Linked DNA regions of Homo sapiens: regions 1, 3, 4, 5, 6 and 7 are each linked to region 2. The links are contacts of gene promoters, found by promoter capture Hi-C in blood cells and fetal thymus (Javierre and others, 2016). All regions are on one chromosome and are shown on one strand. The core of a region is centred on a gene start or on the middle of the fragment in contact, and the rest is flanking DNA. Distances in the headings are between cores, read along the strand shown.

Region 1 (3,437 bases), core at 153-2,652, 720 kb after region 2:
TCCAGACCGGGACCGTGATAATCACCTCCAGACCTGGACTGCGAAAATCACCTCCAGAGCTGGATTATGATAATCACCTCCAGAGGGGGATTATGATAATCACCTCCAGACCTGGACTGTGAGTCACCTCCAGACCTGGACTACGATAATGACCTCCAGCTGATCTCCAGGCATCTATTCTGCTTCTCCTTCCAATCCACTGACAAAATGATTTTTCTCAAATATAAATGGCATCGTGACACTGACAAATTCAAAGCCATTCAATGGCTTTCCATCCCTTTTTGGACAAAATTGAAAATCCTTCATATGGATTTTAAAGCCATTCATGATTCCATCCCAACATAATTCTCCAAACTCATTCCCACTACTCTGCTCCTCTCTCTCTATGCTCCACCCATCAGGGCCTTCTCCAAATTCCTAGAAAGTGCGATGCTTTCCAGGTCCAGAGTCTTGGGTGTGTTATATTCCTGGGCCTGAAACCCTCTTCCCCTCTTCACCTGTCCATTCATCAATGCTTTCAGGTCTCATTTTCAACATCTCTTACTCAGGAAAGTCTTTCGTGACTGCCTAGACAAGGTCAGATTCCTGTTACACATTCCCACGATATCCTAAACCGAACCTTATGGCTTTATCACAATGATGATCGAAAACTCACTTATGAAAACATTTGTGTAACATCTACTTCTCCTACGAGTTTGTAAGCTTCATGAGGAAACTGCATCGTTCCTGTGACTACAACATTCCCAGCCCCTCTGGTTAATATCTGTTGAGTGTGGAATGAATAAGAGAGAGGAAGGCAAAAGAGGACTGCTAGAAAGCACTGAAAGGACCGTGGACACCGAAGACCTGGAGTCTACAGCCATGTCATCTGCAAGGCTGTGTGATTTTTACCAGCAGAGATCACCAATCCAGGGCAGAGAAGGTAGGTAGTAGGGTTTTGACAGACACAATTTTTAAAAATGGATAAGAAGACAAGGACATTTACAGGAAATGCCTGAGTTTACTCTTATTAAGACTTAAAACTCATAGGGCAGAAGTTGTGATTTTTCTCTTTACATATCTTTAGGCCTCCACATTGCTTTGCACACAGCACATACTCAGTATATACTTACTGAATAAGTTAATTATCACACATTGAATCTGATAACAACATAGCATTTAGAGTACAAGCTGTGAGTCCACTTTTAAAAACAAACATGTAACACAGTTGTTTTGGTTACTTGATGGACCACAACTTGCTCAATTCGAGTCTAGTTAGCAATTTTAAAGCTAGGTCCCACTCAACTCTGTATTCTAGTTTGTGAACTCCTTTTCAAACACTGCTTGTTTCATGTTATCTGTTCCTTTTGCCTTAAATCTCTCCCTTCATCTGGTTACCGTCATTATTCATCATGTAATTTGTCAGAACTGATTTCATACAGAGTGCATAATCACTTTTTCTTGGTTACTCAGTTCCTTACAAGTGTTTCATCTTCTGCATATTTAATTTAGGGGTAGGAGATAATGCAGGGGAAGTCATCTCTCCTTGATTTAGCCAAGGTTGAAATAAAATCTGGGTATCTTCATAGCACGACTCTGGGAAACACGAGAGAGGGAATCCAACAGAATGGCAGGATTTAAAGTAAATTTTGTAATTTCATTGTATGGAATCTAACTGATTATTTTATTTGAAAAGATCAGCATAAACTATTGAGAAATATATGAAAAGATAAAACATTTTTATGAATTCTAAATTATACGAAATTTAACTACTTATATAATAACGATTTTAAAATTTAAAGTTCATTCAAGAACTCCAGCCTATGGAATCATCAATGGCATCATAAAAAACCTTTCTTCTGCAATGTGGATAACAGCAGAGTCCTTAAGTACCTTTGATCCCATGTACTCCCTTTCTTTCGTTATTTCCTTTTTCATCATGTCTTTCTCAATGGCCCTTTTCTCTTGCTGAGATGCAAGTTCTTTTTCAAGTCGCTCCGCCTGCCTCTCCAGCTCCTTCCTCAACTGGTCACACTGGATTAAAGCCTGCCAGGATAGAACAGATTGAAAGAGGAGGTTAGAATTTGGAAAAAATATAGGTAAAATGACATAATTAAGCTTTAAGTATATTTAAAATAGCAAAAACTCACTATAAAGCCCATTAGAATAATTTTTTATTGTTTATCAATACCACTTATTGACCTAAAAGAGTATCCAAATGTTACATTTATTGACATATTTCAATTTTCATGATTAAAGCCATATTAATTAATCAATGACAAAATTCAGGTAATGAACCTTGATGACGGCCACAGATGAGTCAGAATTTTAAAAAAGGGAACCAGAAACACCAAGTGTTCTAATATTTTCAATTATATATCATGTTTATACTACACGAAATACGTAAGTATCCAATTTAACTGATTTCTTATTTGCTCATGGATAAAAATTATTGGAATACTTCAAATGATAGATCAAAATACTAAAATGAAATGTTGAATATATCATTACACACAGGCATCTTTTGTTTAATACTATATAATAATCAAGTTTCCTTAAATATAACTAAGAGAAAATTTAGTTCACTCCCCTTAAACATACAACTGAAGTAAAAATTATGTAATAATCGTAAGTTAAATGGAAAGACTCAAGACAGTATTCACTACTTAGTTTTATAAGGATCTTCCACTTCTGGTAAAGTTCATGATTGTCCTTTACTGTAAATTTCCCACTCTGCATTTCCAGAAATAAAAAATCTCTAACTTCATTTTGGCCACTTTTACAATATCTTTATTTATAACACCCAATAATGAAATATGACTTCAAAAATCCCAATTTGGGGAGGTCTTTTTTTGTATAAATATATGGGGTACAAATGTAATTTAGTTACATACACAGATTGCATAGTAAAATCCCAATTTTTAAAAATCCTAATAAAAGTAAGGTACTATAGTATCTTATAGTCTTATTCCAGTGGCCCTTATGTACAATATCCACCTCACACAACCTCTCTTTTCCCCTGAAATGGTAGAAAGAACCCCAGGTCTCATGTGACTTACATGCTGTATGATTAGAAATTTCATAGTCACATTTGATTTTAATGGAGATGGAAATGGCCTTAGTAAGCACTGTAAGTTTTATGCATAGTTATGCTTCCCTCTGGTGAAAGCTATAATAAATACAGACAATAAATATCTAGGATATGTGAATTTTCCTCTCTTCATCTGGAAAGCATTAAACTCCAGTTTCTTTTGGTCTCTTCTGAAAAGTTTCTATGCTCCCAGGCATAAAATATAAAGGTAAAATTCAGTTGTCTCAGATTAACTAATAAACAAATACAATGAGTAAAAAGTGATTCTTCTAGGGAATTAGTCCCAAGTCAAAATTCCAGCCGAGAATGCCTGGAAAAGGAAATTTTAAATTAGATATTAAAATAAATGAAAAGGCATACTTTTTCT
Region 2 (3,346 bases), core at 381-2,880:
GTTTCATATTGAAATTAATTCAAACTTTTAAAAATAAAGGCATACAGCGCTTAAATAAAACTCAAAAGCTTTACAGGTTCAACGTTTTTTTTTAAGCCTTTTTAGAAAAAGAGAACCTTTTTTTTTTTCCTGGTTCTGCCTTACCTCAGCCAACAGAAAATACTTTGTTTCAATATAATTTGATATATTTCTGTTTTCCCACTAGCTTCTATTCTTGCAAATATTCATCATTGCCCTTGTTTTGTGATGAGGGAAAGTGAAATGGAGGGAGGAGAAAGGCAAAGATGTACAAAGGGTCAGAATTCAACTGCAGTGGGTAAACTCCTGAAAAATAAAGAAGACCCGACTTCCCCTTTCCTGTGACCAGAAGCAAGCCTCCACACCACCCATCTCAGCAAGTGCATTTTGGGAATAGATACACTTAATTTAATATTCAGAAATTACTTCCTTTCTTCTTGTTCTTCTACACTTTGCCCAAGACAGACTAAAACTTTATCCTAACCCCAGACACATTCTGCAAGATGCCACTGCTAGAATAAACTAAGATTTACAATACAATCACTTTAAGTGCCCCACAGCTAACATCAATCCTAATCCTTGAGAAGGCTAAAAATAAAGATTGGAGGGCAGCTCACAAGGTAGCCGTGATCAAATTAGGAGGCTGAGAGGACAGAGAGGGACGAAGAAGGAAGCTTATAAACATCTGATCCAGCTGACTGTGGCCATATGGCAGCTGCTGCCCAGATAAAGAGATTAAGAATAGAGGAGTGCGATTACAGCTGTCTGGCCAATTCAGGCAGCTCAAATCTACAAGTTCTAAATTAGTCGCTAACACAAAAACTCCTGCAAATAATTATTGTTATGCTGAAATAAAAGATCTCTTAAATATATATTTGAAAGAGAAATGAGGAAACCAGTCAAACTATTCTCCTGGGGACAAAAGTTTGGTTTTTTTTTCTTCTTCTTAAAAACCTGCAGTTTCAACAGCACTACAGCTGTATGTTTCAGTAGTGCTGCTCAATGTTTTGAAGAATAAAGTTTCACAGAGGAATTAATTATACAACAATCTAGCTGCTTAACTAGAATAATCTTCTCATATAAGTTTGAATGCTGGATTCCAGTTTACTATTTCCCCACCACCACCACCCCAATCAAATCTAAATAGCAGTGAACAACAAAAAAGCATTTTAATCCAACGTGATTTCCAAAAGCAGCATTTTAAAGCCTTTCTTAACATTTCAAAACTTGAAATATTTGTGTATTAAAGTTATTTACTCGCTCAAGTAAAAGGGATAAAAAATTAAAACTAAACAAGCTCAAGACTTTCAACTCCAGTAAGATGTTCATTTAATACTCAATTTCATATATTATTCCTAAACTGGGTTAGAAAAGTAATGTGATTTTTAAAATTAAATAAACAAAACACCAAAACAGAAATATGCTCAATCTAATCTCTTGCTACTCCTACCTTTAGGACACATAAACCTGATTAAGTCCTTTCCTCTGAGTCCTGCTGGCTCCAGGTCTGTTACATCGGTGGAAAAAAAGCAGACTAAGAGAGACAGATGCAAAGTGGAGATGATGTTAGAGAGGAATGAGATACCTTCTCCACCACAGATCCGCACACACTAACTCCCTGTCTGTGTGTTAGAATAAAAGGCTGAGGGATGGCAGGCTGTCAGCTGCTCTGACATCATGTTCAGATGGAAATGCTACCTCCAGCTGTGCTCCTTTTAATGCCATATGCTACTCCTCTACACTCCTGCCACCAGCTTTTTCTTAGGAGAACTTTTCTCTTCTGTTAGTATAAACAAAATACTTCAAAGTCTTCCTTTTTTTCCAAACTTTCTAACAGAAGAAATTGAAAAACTCAGCATATGGAGTTCTACTGTATTTATGGAATAGCAACACTTCTGTCTTAAGTTGGTGGACTGGCTTACATACTGACAGCACACTCAAGCCACGGTGCTATTCAGGAAATCCAGATTCACTTTTATTCAACTCCAACGTTTAGTTTCTAAAGCAGTTTAGGGATATTTTTAAACCAACCCATTTGACATCTCCAGTCCCATTTCAACATTATTACCGCACTTTTTTATTTTTTTCTGCTGAGATAATGGTATACATGTCTCAAATGTTGGCAGACTTGTTCAGAACTATTACTTCAGACTGGTTCACCTTATTATTTCACTCTTATGTAATTACTTATCTACAACTACCTTCTCAGAAAAATTTCTTACACTGCCACAGTCAATGCAAATTTCAATTCTCGGTACCAACAAGCTGAAACTGCACTTTCTGAAATCCTGGAAAGTACTTCAGTTCAACGAGACCAATTAATAAACTGATACAACCTGCTCCAGTCACTTAAAATGAATGCTGCACCTGCATATCTGATCTTTCTGCTCAGAAAAAGCAGAACCTTGCCTTCCCCTTGATCTGTGTCCCTTAACAATCTTTTTTTTCTTTGGGGGGGGGTCACTCTAATGTTTATGATCACAAGAAAATCTTTGTGTGGGGGGAAGCCAGGTCTAGTAAGTTTGAGAACTTTTCAGCCAGTTTGTGGGTCTTTTCTAATAGCTGATGAAACTGTAACGCGACCCGGGCTGGGCTGACCGGTACCGGGCAGGGTGCTGCGACATCTCTGAATGTCAAATACATCTCCTCAGACTCTTGGGAGGGCGAGGGGTAGAAAAGGAACTGGGGCCTGAGGCGCCAGCGTCCCAGCCCTGGTGATAACCACTTCGTTCCCATTAGAAAGCCGTGGCGGAGAGTTAAAGAGTAACAAAACCCGACGACTCCGTCCTGTCCTTCTCGCTTTCCCAAAGTCACAAACCTAACTTTCTCCAACTTCGCGGTGAGTGACATAATTATGAACACTTAGTCCAGGAGACATCCTCGGGAGATCAATTTCTTCCCAGCCACACCACCTATTCTCCACAAATGCCCTCGACCCATTCCAATATATCAGACATTAATCACCCCATTTACCCAGTGGGGTGGGGGGTGAGTGACAGTTTAATGAGTCCCGGGCACCGCAATGGGCCAGCAACTCCCACTCCACAAATCAACCCCTTCACGTCTCGCTACCGCGGATCCATAGAGGTTTTGTGAGGTTGGGGTTTTGTTTTTCAGAGAGGTGGGGGCGGGGGTGCCGAGTGGGGAAGCAATGCAAATCTTTACGTAGTTCGCCGTGCATAAAACACACGGGGAAAGAGGAAGGTTAAAACCACAGGGAAGGAGGTGGAGGGCGCAGAGCCGGTGCAGCAGGAAAACACCTTAAACAACAGAGGAGAAAACAGACCCGGGTCACGGCAACAACAAAAGAAAAGTCGTAAGAAGCAGC
Region 3 (3,527 bases), core at 341-2,840, 800 kb after region 2:
AAGGGTACCACTTATTTCCTTACTCTGGTTCATAAAATTTTAGAATTCAAGGGAACTTTAGAAGTCAGCTCATACAATGTATCACCCACTACTAATATCTCTGAGATGTTATTGGGTCCAACTTCTCCACAAACCCTTCCCTGGGCATAGGAAAGCCTGTTTAGCTTCCAAAAAGTGTAATAGGAAGATCTCACTTAAATTGAGCTAGTAGCTGCTTTTACTATATAACTTCTTCCCACTGGTTGCAATTCAGTCTTTAGGAGTAAGATGAAGTAAGGTTTTTCTCAATATATTAGCTAGATTTTCTCTTGTCTAAATGTTAGGACACCTCCAACTTCATATGGTTTCCTTTGCCATCCCTCACATCTCTCAGCTGGATTCAATCAGTTTTGTCAGTGCTATTCTTTGTGTTCTGATCTTGTTTCCATATTTAATTCTGCAGTTATGGTCTGAATGCAAAGTGCAGTGAAATTGTCCCTTTCCTTATTTCAAGCCATACACTTGTGTTTAAAGTCTAAAATTGTATCAACTCTTTAACAACAGTCATCTCTGCTAATTCAAAGCAAAAAGCAGAGAGAGAGAGAGAAATGTTACATGGCTTTTCAAGTTATATTTATGTAATTCAAGGTACTATTTTTTGAGATTTTGTTCTCCTTTTCTAATGTTCATAAATGGCCTTTATTAAATGATAGTGTTAGTAACACCTATTAAGTAATGATAGGTTAAGTTTCTTTTGATGTTGGTCATGGGGTTTTGTTTTATTTTAGTGTTCCTGATTAACCAATAAAAAGTTGGCAGCCTTATGTTGATTCTTAATTTGTTTTCTGAAAAATTGGTCTGGAAACCACTGATGTAGTCAACATAAACCAACATTTTTACACTTAGCTAGATTTCTCCCATTGTGTATAAACACACAGGTGATGTTTTTAAACCAGTATTTTACCATTGCCTCCTATTAAATTTCATCTCCGTGAACGTAGCTATAGTTAAAACTTGAGATCTTCTTGAATCATGATTCTGTCATCCAAGGGATTAGCTTTCCTTCCTGGCTTTTTGACATTTATAAATTCAACAAGCCAAACTCTTATGTCTCCATCCTGGCCATATACTTAATATAGCCAAGGACAAAGCCATGCACATTTATAAATAGAATGAATGTTACATAAATAAAAGATGCTGGGAGGAAAGGTGACACAAAAATAATGAAAACCATTCGGATGGGTTTTTTTTGTTTGTTTGTTTTTGGGGCCTTTTTGTTTGTTTTTGTTTTTGTTTTTTTGAGACGGAGTCTTGCTCTCTCGCCAGGCTGGAGTGCAGTGGCTCAGTCTCGGCTTACTACAACGTCTGCCTCCTGGATTCAAGCTATTCCCCTGCCTCGGCCTCCCGAGTAGCCGGGACTACAGGCACGCCCGGCTAATTTTTTGTATTTTAGTAAAGACAGGGTTTCACCATGTTGGCCAGGATGATCTTGATCTCCTGACCTCATGGTCCACTGCCTAGGCCTCTGAAAGTGCTGGGATTACAGGTGTGAGCCATGGCGCCTGGCCTTGTTTTGTTTTTTAAATTAAAGAGAAAACCATTATATCCTCCAGCAGTAAAGGAATTAGATGAAGTTTACAATATACTGGAGGATATGGATAATTCTTTTACGATGTAAAGTCAAGTAAGGATAGATGCTATGAAGAAAAATTAATCAAGGTAAAGAGACAGTGGTAGAGGACTGCTGTTTTACATTTGTTTTCAAGTGTTCATTCAGGTAGTTTTCAAATAATATTTTGAAAAGAAATAATATGAAAAACCTTTTCACCCTACATCTTATCTGCTGAGTTACCACTTTTGCCAATCCAGTAAGTAGCTATTTTTATTATTTCTTATGTATTCTTCAATGAACTTTATTTATTTATTTATTTATTTATTTATTTATTTATTTTGAGACAGAGTCTTGTTCTGTCGCCCAGGATGGGGTACAGGGGCAGGATCCCAGCTCATTGCAGCCTTGACCCGCTGGGCTTAAGCAATACTCCCACCTCAGCCTGTTGAGTAGCTGGGACTACAAGTGTGCGCCACCATGCCCAGCTAATTTTTTGTAGAGATGAGGTCTCACTATGTTGCCAAGGCTGGTCTTGAATTCCTGAGCTTAAGTGATCCTCTTTCCTCAGCCTCCCAAAGTTCTAGTATTACAGGCATGAACCACCACGCCTGGCCATGAATTTTTCTTCACCTCAAGCAAATATAAATACATATTTTGTGTCCCCTCTATGACACAAAAAAATAGCCTCTTTATCCACTATGCTACACCTTGAGAACTATCTTAGAGTGGTTAGGGAATCCCTCTTTCTGAGGTGACATTTAGCAGAGAACTTGCATTAGGTAAGGAAGCATCTTGTAGGTATCTGAGTGGAGAGTATTCTACTCAGGTGCGGTGGTTCTGAGGCAGGAATGGGATAAGTGAATTTGGAGAACACTGTGGCTGAAGGTGAGTGAGGAAAAGGTGCTTATAGGAGGAAATGAGGTTGCATAGAGATTTTATTCATTGATTTTAAGTGCTATGAGCATTCATTGGAGGATTTTGAGCAAAGCCAAAAAATTGGGTTATATTTTTAAAGAATGGCTCTGGGAATTCTTTAAAACACTGGGAACCATGAGATAAGCTAGGAAATGATTGGAATGATCTGGTTTAAGAGACATTAATGGCTTAGACTAGAGCGACAGTAGTGGCAATAGTGAAAGTTACTAGTTTCTGGCTTTAGAGAGTCAAATGTTTTGGATATGTTAAGTTTGAAGTGTCTGTTAAACGCCCAAGTGGACACATCAGGTAGGCAGTTAGATATGTAAGTCAAGCATTCAGAGGAGAGGTTTGGACTGAGGATAGTTAAATGTTAAGCATCACCAGTAGACTTAAAGGGATCTCTTGGCTAGGGAGTTAGACTGAGAAGAGATCCAAGAATTGAGAATTGGTACTTTCCACATGGAAAGCTGAGCAAAAGAGAAGGCGCCATCGAGGAGGATTGAAAAGTGGACAGTGGGGTGTGAGGAAACTGAAGAGTGTGTTGTCCCACAAGCCAAGTAAAGGAAGTATTTTTAGAGATAAGGAGTGATCAGTCCCCTGTATCACCTTTAATCACCTAAATACTTCATAAGAAATCAGGCAGTATCCTCTTTCTTTCTGAATGGTCTCTGAGAAAGCAATTTCCTTTTTTAAATCTGGTTTATCAACATGAATGTTCACAGTTATTCTCCCCTGGCAACTACTAAATCTAAAGCCCTGAACAAAGTTTTACTCATAAAGAGGCCAATGCTGTTTCCTACGTGGATGAGTATGGCAGCTGCTGCTGCCTCTGATGTTTGAACAGGAGAAGCGATGCTGTTTCATAGGAAGAATTTATCAGGAAGCTAGTGATAGTCCAGCTACCTCAGAGGTTTATTGTGGTAGCCAAACGAGGTAGATGTAAAAACCAAATGAAAGGTATAATTGCAGATAGGGGTCTCCTTCCCTTATTGCCCCAAGTGTGGTACCAACTTGATAG
Region 4 (3,520 bases), core at 538-3,037, 640 kb after region 2:
GACAGAAAAAATGAAAGGCTCAAGTCTGGAACAAGGACCTGGTAGTTGTGGGGTTGAAGCACCAATCCCACCTTCCATGTTCCTACTCACCTTTTTACTGATGTCTGAAGTTCCAATGTGAGACATACAACTCTTTTGGCTAAAAGGTGTTTCCCTTTTAAGATAAAATTTTGTGAGCTTTGTGATAGTAGCATATTGGTATGAAAAAACTTGTGAGAATTTATAACATGCTTACTGGCTGAAAATCATTAAGGAATACAGACAGAAGGGGCAGGGAGGTGCTGGGTACCGATGTGAGTTTAGACAGAAAATGTACACCTGTCCCAATATTGGTGCTATTAGCTTTGATAGCTTGATTAACATCATTGGTGTGCCAGACGATATTTAACAACAGGGCTCCAGGGGACAGGAAATCCCTCTTTGGTAGTATTCACCAATTTTCAGTGTAGACACTTCCACCATGCTCTATTTTCAGCTACCAAAGTGACATCACTGAATACCAAGTTGGGAAGAAATACACATAATTGGCTCTCATGGGCTGGTACAAGTCAGACTCAGCAAAACAGCAGTTAGGTGAGCTGTCCCAGGCCTCTCTACTGTAAAGTTACTCCTTTCCTCTCTGTATCAGGTTGGCACAAAAGTAATTACTTTTAATGGCAAAAATCACAATACTTTTGCTCCAACCTAATAAGTAAGAGGTAATTTGTTGGGAGATGCCTAGACTATGCAAACATCCTATTCTTCATCGAGCTCTCATCTAATAGTTTTACATCCAAAAATGACTTTTTTACTCCATTATTCTTTCTCTATTTTTTAGTTAACATTGTATTATAAGAAAGAGCTTTCCCTTCTCTCTCATTTATTAATTCATTAATATCAGCATGGAGTCATGGATTCATATCTTATTCAGTGGGTTATAATCCATTATGATTATTATTTTTATGCTCAATTTATCCTGGATTTGGCCAGGGGGAACCCTTTCAAGGTGGTTCCTACGTGACATGTCTCTATTGTTCACGTGGCTTTCTATCTCCACAAAATGTTGCAGGCTCATCTTGTAATGTCCTTGTACCAGTCTTGGAATCAGCATTTGACCAAGGAGCTGTTTTTGTGCCTTTAATGGAGAATGGTATTTAGAAATCAGGATCTGTCACTAGGTGGTGCTCACTGCTACTGCAAAATCATTGCTTCTAGGTCACCTTGGTGGACTAAGTCTGGATATGAATATACATGTAAGTGTATAAATGTGAATATAAATATAAATATTTGTCTGTATCCTATATGAATATATGCATACACATTCATACTGGTCTTTCCAATTACAATCCAACAACATACATAGAACCTTGTCTCCCTTTTTTCCATAATTGTAATTTTTTCCTCAATAGTAAGAAACTTGGTTCCTATTATCCTCAACATACTTGTTTGTTCAAACTTGGAATACACAGAAAGTAGTTTCAAAATTAATAATCTATGGAAAGCAAATCTACTAGTAACTAGATTTCAATATTTGCTTATAGTTTTGTTTTGTTTTGCCTTGTTTTTTAAACAAATGTATAGGTACTTTTTGAGTTTATTCTCTTTGTGCTCTGGGAAGATGACACCTTGAGAGGCAATGGAGTACAGCCAAACTCACAGAGCTAGAGGGTCAGAGTATGGCATCTACCACCTTATCACCTGTGTGACTATAGACTAATAACTTTCTTCCTTTAATACTGGGGTTCTTCATTCAAGCAGAACAAAAAGAAAATCCAACCTTAAAGGACTAATCCTTTTAAGAAGCTACTAATTACTAATGTTTACACATAAGCTAAGGTCTTTACATGCATTCTTTTATTTAATCCTCATACCAACCATATAAAGTAGGTTCTCTTAGTATCTTCACTTTATAGATAAGAAAATGGGAGCCTAGAGAGGTTATACAGTATGTCCAAGTTCTTTAGTTATTAAAGGTTACAGCCAGGAAATCCAGGGCTATCTGACTCTAAAGTCCACAGTGAATCACTATGCTTCAGTCTCTTCTTTTATCAGGGATGTAGAGAAATGAGAGAAGGTTGAAAGGATAACAAGTGTCTATTTCAATTATCTATATGGGAGTGTGCCATTTAATAGCCATATTATCCATCTTGACAGCCAAATCCCAAGCTAGTTCTCCTTCTTCTTTCCCTGTTGTCCCCTAAGCTATTGGATTACTTTCTCCTACAATGACACCATCAATTAGTTGTGTCCTTCTCGAAGACATATATTCACCTTTGCAAAAACATTGAAAGGTACCACAAACACATCTCCTGCCTCAAGTGGCCACAGACTCTAGAAAAGATAAGACATGTGCATCAATCTGGAATCTAAATCCATGGAGAATAGGAACCTTTGTTTTGCTCACTAATTTATCCCGAAAATCTGGAATAGTGCCTGGTACACAGTTGTGTGGTCAATGAACATTTCATGAATGAATAAACGAATGAATGAATGATCAACTACTAAAAGACGGAAAGTACTAAGTATCCTCACAGGTGTAAGTATCATCCTGTCTACTGACTACAGTCAGAGAATATGATAAGATAATCTCTATTTTTGCAAGAATTTATTATTATTATTGAAAATAAAACAAAACAAAAACAATAATAAAATTGGTAGACAGCATGATGTCTTCCATGTTTCAGAAGAACCCAAAATTCTATGCTTATTTACAGCTAACAGGGGCTGTATTCCCTTATTTGAGCAAATGTGGAACTACTGAGAAGAAACAGAAAGGAAAACACAGGAATGAGATTCTGGAATCTCTACTTCCTTAAGTATGCAAAAGACTTAATGGCATATTTCCTGGAGTAAATTACTTCTATTTTCTTCATTGCAAAGTATGTCAGAACTTCAAGCACAATGTTGAAAGATGAGTTATCAGATCAGAGAATGAGTCACTTCTAGGGAAGAAAGCAGAAACAGAAAGGAGGTCAACTTCTTTCAAGGGAATATACACAAAAGAAAGGAAATATTTAACAGAAACATCTCTAAAAATAATTTTCCCTCCAAAAATGTTCTTACAGTATCTCCAAAATAATTTGAAAACTTACCTTCAAGGCAAAAGACAATACAGTAGACTAGCTATTGCCTGTTTCTATTACATATGCACAATTCCCATCTACTTTTAAAACAAAACCACAGACTCTATCAACTCCAGTTACTAGCGCATCACCCTTTGCATGTCTGTACTTTCTATTTTAAAAGGCACATTCAAATGCACCGACCTCTCTATTCTTCATAACATCTCTGTGGGGCAGAGAGATGGAACAGATATTCCTGTTTGATAGATAAAGTGTCTCAAACTCGGGAATTAAGAGATTTTTCTCAAAGCCATGCAGCTAGTAAGTAGCAAAGCTGGAATCCAAATCTGTCTTCTCACTCCAAGTCCAGTGTTCTTTCCATTCCATGGCACTGCCTCACATGATGGGTTTGTTTAATCAAACAGTGGATTGCGCATCCATTCAACAAATACTTAAGCAACTACTTTGTGCCAAGCACA
Region 5 (3,694 bases), core at 1,094-3,593, 780 kb after region 2:
TCTAGTGTCATAAGCTATATATGATGTGTTTGGTTTCTTGATCATTACTGTCAGTACCCTATGAACCATTCTCATTCAAAGTCAAAGTAAGAGCCTTAATACTGACAGCGGAGAAGAATTGGTCTACCAGTTTAGAATCCCTGATTGCTGTACCACTGCTCCAGTAGGTTGACAAGTATGGGAGAATGATTGGTATTTGTATTCCAAAGCATTTGCCATTTGCTGGGCTACAGCAAGCGGGGTGAGAAGGAAAACTTCTGAAATATGAAAGCATATTATGAAATCATTAGACATAGTAATGAACTACTGGGAAATCAAGCAATCAGAAATGGTATGGTCAAGAGCATCATTCCCAAGTCTGACAAGCTCTTGTGACACATCAGTCTCTCAATCACGTAAGAATAGCAATTGTCAATGTATTGCTACAAACATGAAGATTTATAGCAGCAAATTTTAATACAATCTATAGTTAATATAAGCTTTCATTTATTTAGTTTTAAATTCTTAATGAGAAACTTACCTTGCAGAACTTAACTTCTGCCTCTAAATGATGAATATATTGAGACTGGTCATTAATAGTATGAACAAGGTCGTGCATAGTAGGCATATTGGTTTCCTCATGTTCTAATGACCTCTATGACAAAAAATAAATAAATAAATACATAAATACATAAATTTTAAAAAGCCAAATTAAGCATGTTTGGATTTAGCAAAGAATCAGTTGTTACCTTCTCCATACTCAATTTTGCACTGATGTGATATAAACATAGAATCGATCACAATGTAGCTTATAGTCTTGATATAGTTTGGATGCTTGTCCCCCACAAACCTCAAGTTGAAATGTGGCCCCCAGCATTGGAGGTGGGGCCTGGTGGGAGGTGTTTCGGTCATGATGAATGAATCTTGGTGCTATCCTCATGATAATGAGTTCTTGCTCTGAGTTTTGGTGAGATTTGGTTGTTTAAAAGAATGTGACACCTCTCCCACTTCTTGCTCTGGCTCTCACCACATGAAATGCCTGCTCCCCTTTCACCTTCCACCATGACTGAAAGTTTCCTGAGGCCCTCACCAGAGTGAGATGCCAGTATCACACTTCCTATACAGCCTGCAGAACCATGAGCTGATTAAACCTCTTTTTTAAATAAATTACCCAGCCTCAGGTATTTATTTTTAGCAACACGAGAATGGACTAATACAAATACTTGCTTCTCTATCCTATAAATTCCACAAATACACAAGATTCATGGATGTGAATATCATTTTTTTTAAAGATGGATGGTGAAAGTGGTTATAAAAAGCACATATAGTGAATGGAAAAATGCTGGGGTAGCAGTAGTATAACTGGCTTGGAATAAACTATTTTAACAAATTGGAAAAACAACATTCCATTCAGTAATGCTGAGATACAAGGGACAACTCTCTCCAAGAAACTGCCATGGAAGAGGATTTGCTAGCTAAAACTGCAGCAGCTCCGTGAAGGAGAGATTCTTTAGGAAGCGTTTGATGCCAAGCCAGTGTCAATGCGATGAAATTCCATCTCAAAAAAGATACATTAGCAAAATGTAGTTTTTGATTTTTGGCTCTAGTATTGAAGGCAATTCAAGTGTATGGTGTTCTGGAGCATAGAACCTCCAAGAGTAGAACCCTAAAGTAGAGACACACTGCATTGAGGGGTCCAACGAAGAGATTTCAAAAAAACGCTAATGCTATTTTAGCTCTGTAGCATTCCTGGAACTGACTGTTAATGTATAGCTTACCTTATCCTAAAATAGTTTGTAAAATCATATACCCATCACATAATTTTTTTTTTAAAGGATGAGGAAATCAGGAAAAGGTAAAACAAGGGTCAACCAGTTAAACAAAGCCAGAGGAAAGCTTGAAATGAGGCACAGTGTCTGTTTCTCAGCCACTCTCTTTCTCAGCACAGCAGACATTTTAAATGATAATCAAGTACCAGCTATCATGGCAGAATAAAATAAAATAGAGCTTTGGTTTTTTGGTATATTTAAGAAATTTAAAAACCAAAGTAACTCTAATTAAATGAATTATCTGTCCTGAGTAGAAATCAAACAATTATAATCATCCTCCATTAATAGCAATAGGTTCAGAAGATAGGCAAATATAAATTACTACTATGAGTATACAGGAGGAAGTCAATGTGAAAAATAAAAAGCTCAAGCCAATATTGTATGAAAAATGTTCACATGAAATCATTTGTGTCTACTTTGAAGGGCTTTAGTTTAGATATCTACATTTTAAGACAATAAGTAATAACTTTTTTTCCATCTCAACAGTGCCTCAGTTTTACTCTCAATATATGCATGTATTTCTAATATGTTATACTGGCTATGAAAGTGCATTCTAAAGGTATAATCTTAAAAAGCTAATTATTACTATTATGGTTTATAATTATTACATGTAGGCTGTATACATATAGAGTCTAAGTTCCATTCTTTTACATAGCTCCATATAAATAGACTTGTGTATTTTAAAGTGCACTCTGTATGTACTAAACTGATTCTCTTAGTGAAGGTCTTCCTGCCTGTCTGGATTCAGTAAGCTCCATAATATCACTGCTCAGACTTTAAAAGGCAAATAAGCATGTCTGAGCATTCAACAGATAAAGCAACTTCATCTAGTAGATTTAAAAGCATTCCACCAGTCTGTGCTTAAGAGCAAGCTAGAAACCAGATGTCAATAGTAATAAATTCATTAAATGATGAGATGTTTTACTAAAATTATAAAATCTGTATCTATAAATTTAGAATATGCATATGAAGTACATTTCTCTAAAGTAGGAATTAAGCTTAAAAGTATGTGTCAGCCTGGAATGGAGTGTTCGTATGGGAGTGATACTCTGATATTTCAGTGGTGAAGAAAAGAAAGTGACATGTCTCCACACTTTTCAGCATACAGGCATTGTATTGAACTAGAAAACACATTGAAAATGTGAGGTGGTTACTTGCTGCTATGCATGTTATGTTTATGTAACACTTCATAGGTTTCTAAAGAATTTTAAGTATGTAATCTTATCTCATTATTCCAAAAACTCTGTGAGACAGGCACAATATCTTAGAGAGTATGTGATAGACCCTAGATAGAACTAAGCCCTTGACTATTATTTTGTCCACTTAAATCTGGTCCAGAGTGCTTTCACTCACATCTATCTCAGCCTTTAGCATATAAAATGCTTTAATCAGAAATAATACACTCTGTCAAAGCAATAACAAACAACTTCAGAAGAAATACAGCACCACTTCTTATATATCATACTATTTTATAACCATATATTTTAACATATAGAACATTACATATTAAAACGTATTATTTTGAGGCCAGGCGCGGTGGCTCACACCTATAATCCCGGTGCTTTGGGAGGCCGAGGCTGATGGATTTCCTGAGGTTCAGAGTTCGAGACCAGCCTAGCCAATATGGTGAAACCCCATCTCTACTAAAAATACAAAAAATTAGCCTGGTGTGGTAGTGCACATCTGTAAACCCAAATACTAGGGAGGCTGAGGCAGGAGAATCGCTTGAACCAGGGAGGCAGAGGTTGTAGTGAGGCGAGATCATGCCACTGCACTCTAGCCTGAGCAACAGAATGAGACTCTGTCTCAAAAAAATTAATTAATTAATTAAAAATAAAATGTATTATTTTGACACTCAAAATTTAAAAAATATTACAAAGTAGGGC
Region 6 (3,548 bases), core at 458-2,957, 700 kb after region 2:
ACAGTCTAGTTAATTCAACTGAATTTAGGCGATAATTCCTGTGTCCTTACACTCCATCCTTAATGTCAGTGTCCAAGTGCTGAATCACTGCTGTAGATATGAGCAACCCTCAAATCCTTTTTTGCCCTCATTTTTCCAGCCAAAATTTTTGGATCTATTTCTTTTGCAGAGATACCCCACCCTGAATATTTGCTTTGATTGCTCCATTAAAGTCATTTCAAACTTGATGTTTTCTACTCAGTAGTAGCCACAACTCCAAAATTATAATTTATACAATGCCGGTAAAAAAAAAAAAAGAAAGACGCTTTCTATATCAGCCTTCTTATCTCTGAAAAATAAAATTGGAACCAACCTAAAAACAAAATTGTAAATATAAAATCATACGGTATTTACACTCCCATCCAAGCCACTAGTAAGTCATGTGCCACTAATAAGAAAATGCCATGATTATCAGTGATACACTCGCTGAGTAATGCCATTAGATTTTTAAGAGACTAAAGATGTGGCACATTTGTTATACTGCAAAATACTCTAAAACCATTGTTATTATTTAAGATACATGGGTCTTCAAACTCAAAGCTCAGCATCCTAGTAAGTCAGAGGAAACTTAAAAAATACAGTTGTATTTCTATACTCAAGGTAGGGATTGGCAACTTTTTCTGTAAAGGGTCAGACAGTAAATATTTTAGGCTTTGTGGGCTATATGGTCTCTACCACAACTCCTCAACTCTGCTGTTGTTGCAGGAAGTAGCAATAGGTGATACATATATGAGTAGGTATGGCTGAGTTCTAATAAAACTTTATTTGTAACATAGACAGCAGGCCAGACTTGACCTATGAGCTGTAGTTGGCTAACACTTTTTTATGAATACTGGGCACATTAGCATATTGAATATGCATATGTGTCTGTATATGTGAGTGGGGATATATACACATATATTAGTATGCAAAATCTCCATTTGCCCATCCCCCTGGTTATGGCAGTTTCTTGGGCACGTGATCAGTGCAGTCACACATGTGCTGTTCAGAAGGGTCCTTACACTTGCAGTTTAATACTCTGTGGTCAATGTCTTGAAATTATTAGCAATTGTATCTTAGAATTGTGTTTTTTTTTTTTTGTTTTGTTTGTTTTGTTTTTATCCAAGACAGGGTTTCGCTCTTGTTGCCCAGGCTGGAGTGCAGTGGCGTGATCTCGGCTCACCACAACGTCCGCCTCCTGGGTTCAAGCAATTCTCCTGCCTCACCCTCCTGAGTAGCTGGGATTACAGGCATGTGCCATCATGTCCGGCTAATTTTTTTTTTTTTTTTTTGTATTTTTAGTAGAGACGGGGTTTCTCCATATTGGTCAGGCTGGTCTCAAACTCCCGACCTCAGGTGATCCGCCACCTCGGCCTCCCAAAGCGCTGGGATTACAGGCGTGAGCCACCACGCCCGGCTAGAATTGTGTTTTGTAGGTGTACTCTGATGGAACAATGGAGACTGAACTCCTGTATGTGGTCTCATCTTTCCACTGCCTCACTGCAGCCCTACGCAGTTCTCAGAAATATACTCCTCTCCAGCTTCCTCTATCCCGCCCTGCCCTGCTGCTGGGGTGGGTCCCTCCACCTAGGGTGGGACCAGGGCACTGGGGGAGGTGCGTATGTCACTGGGGGAGGTGTGTGTTCTCCTGTGTCTTTTGCCCCTGGCAGAATCCTGAATGTGTGTTTAGAGAGGATTGAGTCAAGTGTGCCCATCCCTGCCATCTTAGAGCTGGACAGGGAGGTAAGAATTCCCGCCCCAGGCCGGGCGCGGTGGCTCATGCCTGTAATCCCAGCACTTTGGGAGGCCGAGGCCGGCGGATCAAGAGGTCAGGAGATCGAGACCATCCTGGCTAACACGGCGAAACCCCGTCTCTACTAAAAATACAAAAAAAAAAAAAAAAAAAAATTAGCCGGGCGTGGTCGTGGGCGCCTGTGGTCCCAGCTACTCGGGAGGCTGAGGCGGGAGAATGGCATGAACCCGGGAGGCGGAGCTTGCAGTGAGCCGAGATCGCGCCACTGCACTCCAGCCTGGGCGACAGAGGGAGACTCCGTCCTAAAAAAAAAAAAAAAAGAAAAAAAAAAAAAATGCATGTCCAGCCTGGGTTGGTGAGGGAGGAGGGGCAAGGAGAGAGAGACTGAAGAAGAAAGGAAAATGTTTTATATTTTAGTTCTTTTTAATATCACTTCTTTCCTGCTTTCTGAACAAAAGGGTCCTGTATTTTCACTTTGCACTGGGCCCTAATCAAAGGTTAGCGGCTATAAAGAATCGTCTTCTCAGATTAATTTACCAAAAGGGAAGTTGACAAAAAAACTCTATTTCTGCATCACTCATTTCAGGTCAGCTCATCCTTGTCATGTTAGGGCCTCCTGCAACATGTCCAAATCTTAAATACAAGGCTGTGAAATTAATGCTGAATTTGGGGTTTCGGATGCGAGGAAGCTCCTTTTGGGATATGATTATCAGGAATGCTGCGTGGTAGCCATTTCCTTCACATACTTTGCTGTAGGATTAATTTATACCTCTTTAGAATGACAATGAGGCATTTTATAAAAATAAAGCATAATCAAAACATTATGTACAAAATTTAACAGACAACAACAAAGAAAGATGAAATTTTACTAAGAGTTCTGTTTATTTCCTATTAAAAAGGGTAACACCAGAAAATTGGACATACAAAAACATACTTGTTCTCCTAATTTGAATAAACCAACTGTAAAATCAACATTTTTGAGACAAAGAAATGTGAATATAGGCTGGGTGTTATTTGATATTAAAGAAGTATTGTTAACATTGTTAGGTATGATAATGACATAGTATGTAAAAATATCCTTCATAGATCCACATGGGTATTTATGAGTAAAATAACATAAGGTCTGAGATCCATTTAAAATACTTCTGCAAAAGAAGAAAAAGAGGTAGAGGAAGAAGACAGAAGAAGATGAAGATGAGAAGGTGGAGCAGAAAAAACATGACAAAGAAGATGAAGGTGACGATGAGGACAGAAGTAGAGAGAAAAAAGTGAGATAGATGGAATAGGATTGAGGAGGAGGACTGGCAAAATGATGAGTGATGGAATAGGATTGAGGAAGGGGACTGGCAAAATGATGAGTGATGGAATAGGACTGAGGAAGAGGACGGGCAAAATGATGAGTGTAGGTGATGGAAATGTGAGGACTCATTACAATATTCCCTATACCCTCATACATGTTTTTAAATTCCCCTGATCGAGTGTGTGTGTGTGTATAACCATTGCCTAAAAAAATTTCTCATAAAAATCAAAGAGCATATTTCACATTCTCCTCCATACCAAATGCCTCTTTTTCTGGTGCAAGAAGCATCCTCTGAGGCTGACAGGAATTCTCTAAGCTGAAGAGATACAAAGGAGTTGATGGGAAGGATAATCCGCCCATCGGTTCCTGACACAATATAAAGAAGAAAAGAAGAAAGTGGGTGGAAGCGACTGCCATTGTTACTCTCCTAACCTTTCCTTCTAATTATGCCAGAGCCAAGGCTCAGGTCACAAGGAA
Region 7 (3,683 bases), core at 40-2,539, 660 kb after region 2:
GCCCAACCTCAAGCTTCCCCTTCGGAGGCTCGGCTTCCTCATCTATAAAGGACTGTTTTTTCTTAGGCTTGCTGGAAGCAGTGAGAAGCATAGCATCTCAAGCTTCTTGTGGTAAATGATCAGCATATTTGTTTTAATTTCTAATCTTTTGCAAATAGTTTTTTAAAACACAATAAAAATGAATTACTAGAAAAAAATTTAAAAGATACTCCCCCAAAAAAAGCTCATTGATCATGCGCTTGAAAATTGTGACAATTTAAAATTGATATAAAATTTGCCAAATACTTCTGTAGATTCCGGTACTTATCTTGCCATAGACACTAACAAGCAGCCATCATGGGCCACAGCTGGAACAGCACTATGCAGAAACCAAGCACAATACATGTGCATGCTAGAGATTTAGCTGTGCTTCTTTCTTTTTATATTCTAAGAGTTTTCTAAGTAAAACAACAAAGAGACCCTGTTGTTGTGAAGAACTGATGATGCCTCTTTGGACTTATCACATGTTGACAATGGAGAATATCATTTTCCAACATACATGGACAAAAATGTGCACTTCACTCCCCTCTCTCCACTTGAAACCATTTCTTAGAGGAAAAATCAGGACTTGCATTTTTATTTATTATTTTTTTTTTGGGGGGGGGAGGGGGGACAGAGTCTCGCTCTGTCGCCCAGGCTGGAGTGCGATGGCAATCAAAGCTCACTGTAGCCTTAAACTCCCAGGCTCAAGCAGTCTTCCCAAGTAGCCAGGACTACAGGCACGCACCACCACGTAGCCTCCCAAATAGCCAGGACTCAGGCACGCACCACCACGTAGCCTCCCAAATAGCCAGGACTCAGGCACGCACCACCACGTAGCTTCCCAAATAGCCAGGACTCAGGCACGCACCACCACGTAGCCTCCCAAATAACCAGGACTCAGGCATGCACCACCATGTAGCCTCCCAAATAGCCAGGACCCAGGCACGCACCACCACGTAGCCTCCCAAGTAGCCAGGACCCAGGCGCGCACCACCATGTAGCCTCCCAAATAGCTAGGACTACAGGCATGCACAACCATGCCTGGCTAATTTTTTAATTTTTTTTTTTTTTTTTTGGTAGAGCTGGGGTCTCATTATGTTGCTCAGACTGGTCTTGACCTCCTGGCCTCAAGTGATCCTCCCACCTTGGCCTCCCAAGGTGCTGGGATTACAGGCATGAGCCATGGCACCTGACCAGGGATTATATTTTTAAAAAGACAACAAGGGCAACAGTGCAGATACTTGGTGTTTTACTCACCCAGGATCCCTGACACCTTTCCCCTAGTAAGAGCACTTCCCCTTACTTAGTGAAACTTTCTTCCCTTATTCCATGTGGTTCTGAAGAGGCTACCAGCCACAGCACCCAAAAGTGCGTGTGTGTGCCCAAGGGTGATCCTAACCAAAGGTTTTGAAATTGGAAGTGAAGGAGCTAGGAAGTCACATTCTTACAGTTTGAAATCAAAGGTATTTCCTTTATCATCAATTTCAGAATGAAAGATGTTTTACTTCATGGTATGAAAGAATCTGAAAGAATTAGCAAAATTCAGATAGAAATTGAGCCCTGTTCTGGAAAGTTAGAATATGATAGCATGCTGGCTCCAGGAAACCCTGAGTCCAGCTGCACCTGGATTGTACATGGTCTAGTTATAAAAATTTATCAATTTCTCCTTTTTGGATTTCAGTTCACCCAAAAAGTCCTGACTCGTATGGATAGGCTGGGAGGTCAAACAATTAATTTCAAGAAAATATCTGTACTAGAGGCCGGGCACAGTGGCTCACACCTGTAATCCTAGCACTTTGGGAGGCTAAGGCAGGCAGATCACCAGAGGTCAGGAGTTTGAGACCAGTCTGGCCAACATGGTGAAACCCCGTCTCTACTAAAAATACAAAAATTAGCCAGGCATGGTGGTGCCTACCTGTAATCCCAGCTACTTGGGAGGGTGAGACACGAGAATTGCTTGGACCTGGGAGGCAGAGGTTGTAGTGAGCCAAGACCACACCACTGCACTGCAGGCTGGGCAACAGAGCAAGACTCTTGCTTCAAATTAAAGAAACAAATAAGTAACTGTACTAGTTACTATGTGGAAACTGAAAGCCCTGGAAAGGCAGCCTCTATCACTCTCCCCACATGATCTATCCATCATAACAGGTTAACCTAGTGACTCCTCTGCTGTACCCTTTTCTCACTTTCAAAAAGACACAAATCCTATAGGTCAAGTTGCTGTCTCTCTAGGTCACAGGTCAGATCTTCCCATCTGGATCACAAAAGTAGGTCACAGTATAATACCTGTTTGGTGGACTCTCACTTAGATTCCTGCTCTGAGAAATTCTTTGAAGTACATACATATTATTAAAAAGATCATTTATGTAAAAGGAGAAATAAGAATTTTTAAGGTTTTGTACTTAGGGCAATCCGAGTTCTAAATTCTCTGGATAATAAACAAAAGAAAGCTTCCTGCAGTAGTTCCCCTCAAGATCAGATACAAGAAAAAAAAAATGCAGGATTTAAAAAAATGTGTTTCAGTACATGGGCAAAAGGTATGGAAAAGAATGTCTCAGTAAGCAGTTAATAAGAATCACATAAACGGTAAGAAGTGGTTGCTTTATTCAGCCATATCGTAAATTAACCCAACCACGTGTGTATAAATGGTAGTCATATGAGCGGCATAAGCCACCGCCCCTGGCCTAAGATGAATACATTCTTAACCTCCGAGGTGATACCTATAGCTCTTTACAGATATTTGGACATGTCAAAAATAAATACTTGAAAAATTTCTACTTTTTAATAAAAGCCTCTCTTTCTTCTTGGGTGAAAATTAAGTAAGGGAGTAAAGTAGAATGACAATGGCATTATAATATGTTTAAATGACAATGGCAAATAATGGGCCAAGGGAAACTATGTTTCTTAGGAAAAATTCAAGCCAAAATTCACCGTCACGTGTCATGCATAAGGGAGCAGCTAACACTTCTTTCCTTTCTTTCTTTCTCTCTCTCTCTCTCTCTCTCACTTTCTTTCTTTTTTGAGATGGAGTCTCGCTCTGTCACCCAGGCTGGAGTGCAGTGGCGCAATCTCGGCTCACTGTAACCTCCACTTCCCGGGTTCAAGAGATTCTCCTGCCTCAGCCTCCTGAGTAGCTGGGACTACGGACGTGTGCCATCATGCCCAGCTAATTTTTTGTATTTTTACTGGAGACGGGTTTTTACCATGTTAGCCAGGATGGTCTTGATCTCCTGACCTCGTGATCCGCCTGTCTCGGCCTCCCAAAGTGCTGGGATTACTCCTGACCTCTCGCGATCTGCCTGCCTTAGCCTCCCAAAGTGCTAGGATTACAGGCGTGAGCCACCGCGCCCGGCCGGAAGAAGCTAACATTTATTTCTATTATAAATTCATGTTACTGATTTTCTAAGTTGTCTTTTTCAGAACAACTGCATTAATCCATTTCTCTAGTAATTTACATAGAATTACAGCTTAATGGATAAGGGTACAAGCTTTGCAGGCAACTTACTGGGGTTCAAAACCTGCTTCGATAACATATCAGCTGTGTAACCTTAGAAGACTCCTTTCCTTCTCTGTGCCTTAGTTGCCTCAGCTGTAAATTACAGAAAATAGGAGTCTGTACCTTATAGAGCTATTGGTAGGATTATATGAGAAGCTCTCAGCTT

The links. The method cuts DNA at HindIII sites, captures the fragments that hold promoters and counts their contacts. A CHiCAGO score of 5 or more calls a contact.
Region 1: a fragment that was not itself captured here is called in contact with the fragment with the promoter of ZBTB18 in region 2 in 1 of 17 cell types (naive B cells); the score reaches 5.4 in naive B cells.
Region 3: a fragment that was not itself captured here is called in contact with the fragment with the promoter of ZBTB18 in region 2 in 1 of 17 cell types (fetal thymus); the score reaches 7.8 in fetal thymus.
Region 4: a contact is called between a fragment that was not itself captured here and the fragment with the promoter of ZBTB18 in region 2, in 1 of 17 cell types (fetal thymus). The highest score is 5.3, in fetal thymus.
Region 5: a fragment that was not itself captured here is called in contact with the fragment with the promoter of ZBTB18 in region 2 in 1 of 17 cell types (fetal thymus); the score reaches 5.7 in fetal thymus.
Region 6: a fragment that was not itself captured here is called in contact with the fragment with the promoter of ZBTB18 in region 2 in 9 of 17 cell types (M0 macrophages, fetal thymus, endothelial precursors and 6 more); the score reaches 9.9 in M0 macrophages.
Region 7: a fragment that was not itself captured here is called in contact with the fragment with the promoter of ZBTB18 in region 2 in 1 of 17 cell types (M2 macrophages); the score reaches 6.9 in M2 macrophages.

The regions. Positions count from the first base shown.
Region 1 is chr1:243,329,128-243,332,564 of GRCh38, reverse strand. SDCCAG8 (SHH signaling and ciliogenesis regulator SDCCAG8) reads right to left here. Exons shown (of 18, transcript NM_006642.5): 10 at 1,873-2,025. Among named protein-coding and RNA genes, the nearest start is that of MIR4677, 15 kb to the left of the region's middle. The HindIII fragment of the contact is 1,395 bases long and covers 705-2,099 here.
Region 2 is chr1:244,049,567-244,052,912 of GRCh38, reverse strand. ZBTB18 (zinc finger and BTB domain containing 18) reads right to left here and starts at 1,630. Exons shown (of 2, transcript NM_205768.3): 1 at 1,469-1,630. The coding sequence starts at 1,481. RefSeq lists enhancers at 354-855, 2,572-2,621 and a silencer at 2,302-2,391. The HindIII fragment of the contact is 5,583 bases long and covers 695-3,346 here.
Region 3 is chr1:243,247,822-243,251,348 of GRCh38, reverse strand. All of the region lies in intron 1 of CEP170 (centrosomal protein 170), which reads left to right. Among named protein-coding and RNA genes, the nearest start is that of CEP170, 5.7 kb to the left of the region's middle. The HindIII fragment of the contact is 5,300 bases long and covers 1-3,527 here.
Region 4 is chr1:243,407,136-243,410,655 of GRCh38, reverse strand. The region is part of intron 13 of SDCCAG8 (SHH signaling and ciliogenesis regulator SDCCAG8); the gene reads right to left. Among named protein-coding and RNA genes, the nearest start is that of MIR4677, 63 kb to the right of the region's middle. The HindIII fragment of the contact is 3,882 bases long and covers 1-3,520 here.
Region 5 is chr1:243,271,483-243,275,176 of GRCh38, reverse strand. SDCCAG8 (SHH signaling and ciliogenesis regulator SDCCAG8) reads right to left here. Exons shown (of 18, transcript NM_006642.5): 4 at 521-634. Among named protein-coding and RNA genes, the nearest start is that of SDCCAG8, 17 kb to the right of the region's middle. The HindIII fragment of the contact is 931 bases long and covers 1,878-2,808 here.
Region 6 is chr1:243,346,581-243,350,128 of GRCh38, reverse strand. The region is part of intron 12 of SDCCAG8 (SHH signaling and ciliogenesis regulator SDCCAG8); the gene reads right to left. Among named protein-coding and RNA genes, the nearest start is that of MIR4677, 2.2 kb to the right of the region's middle. The HindIII fragment of the contact is 6,251 bases long and covers 1-3,548 here.
Region 7 is chr1:243,386,112-243,389,794 of GRCh38, reverse strand. The region is part of intron 13 of SDCCAG8 (SHH signaling and ciliogenesis regulator SDCCAG8); the gene reads right to left. Among named protein-coding and RNA genes, the nearest start is that of MIR4677, 42 kb to the right of the region's middle. The HindIII fragment of the contact is 2,369 bases long and covers 105-2,473 here.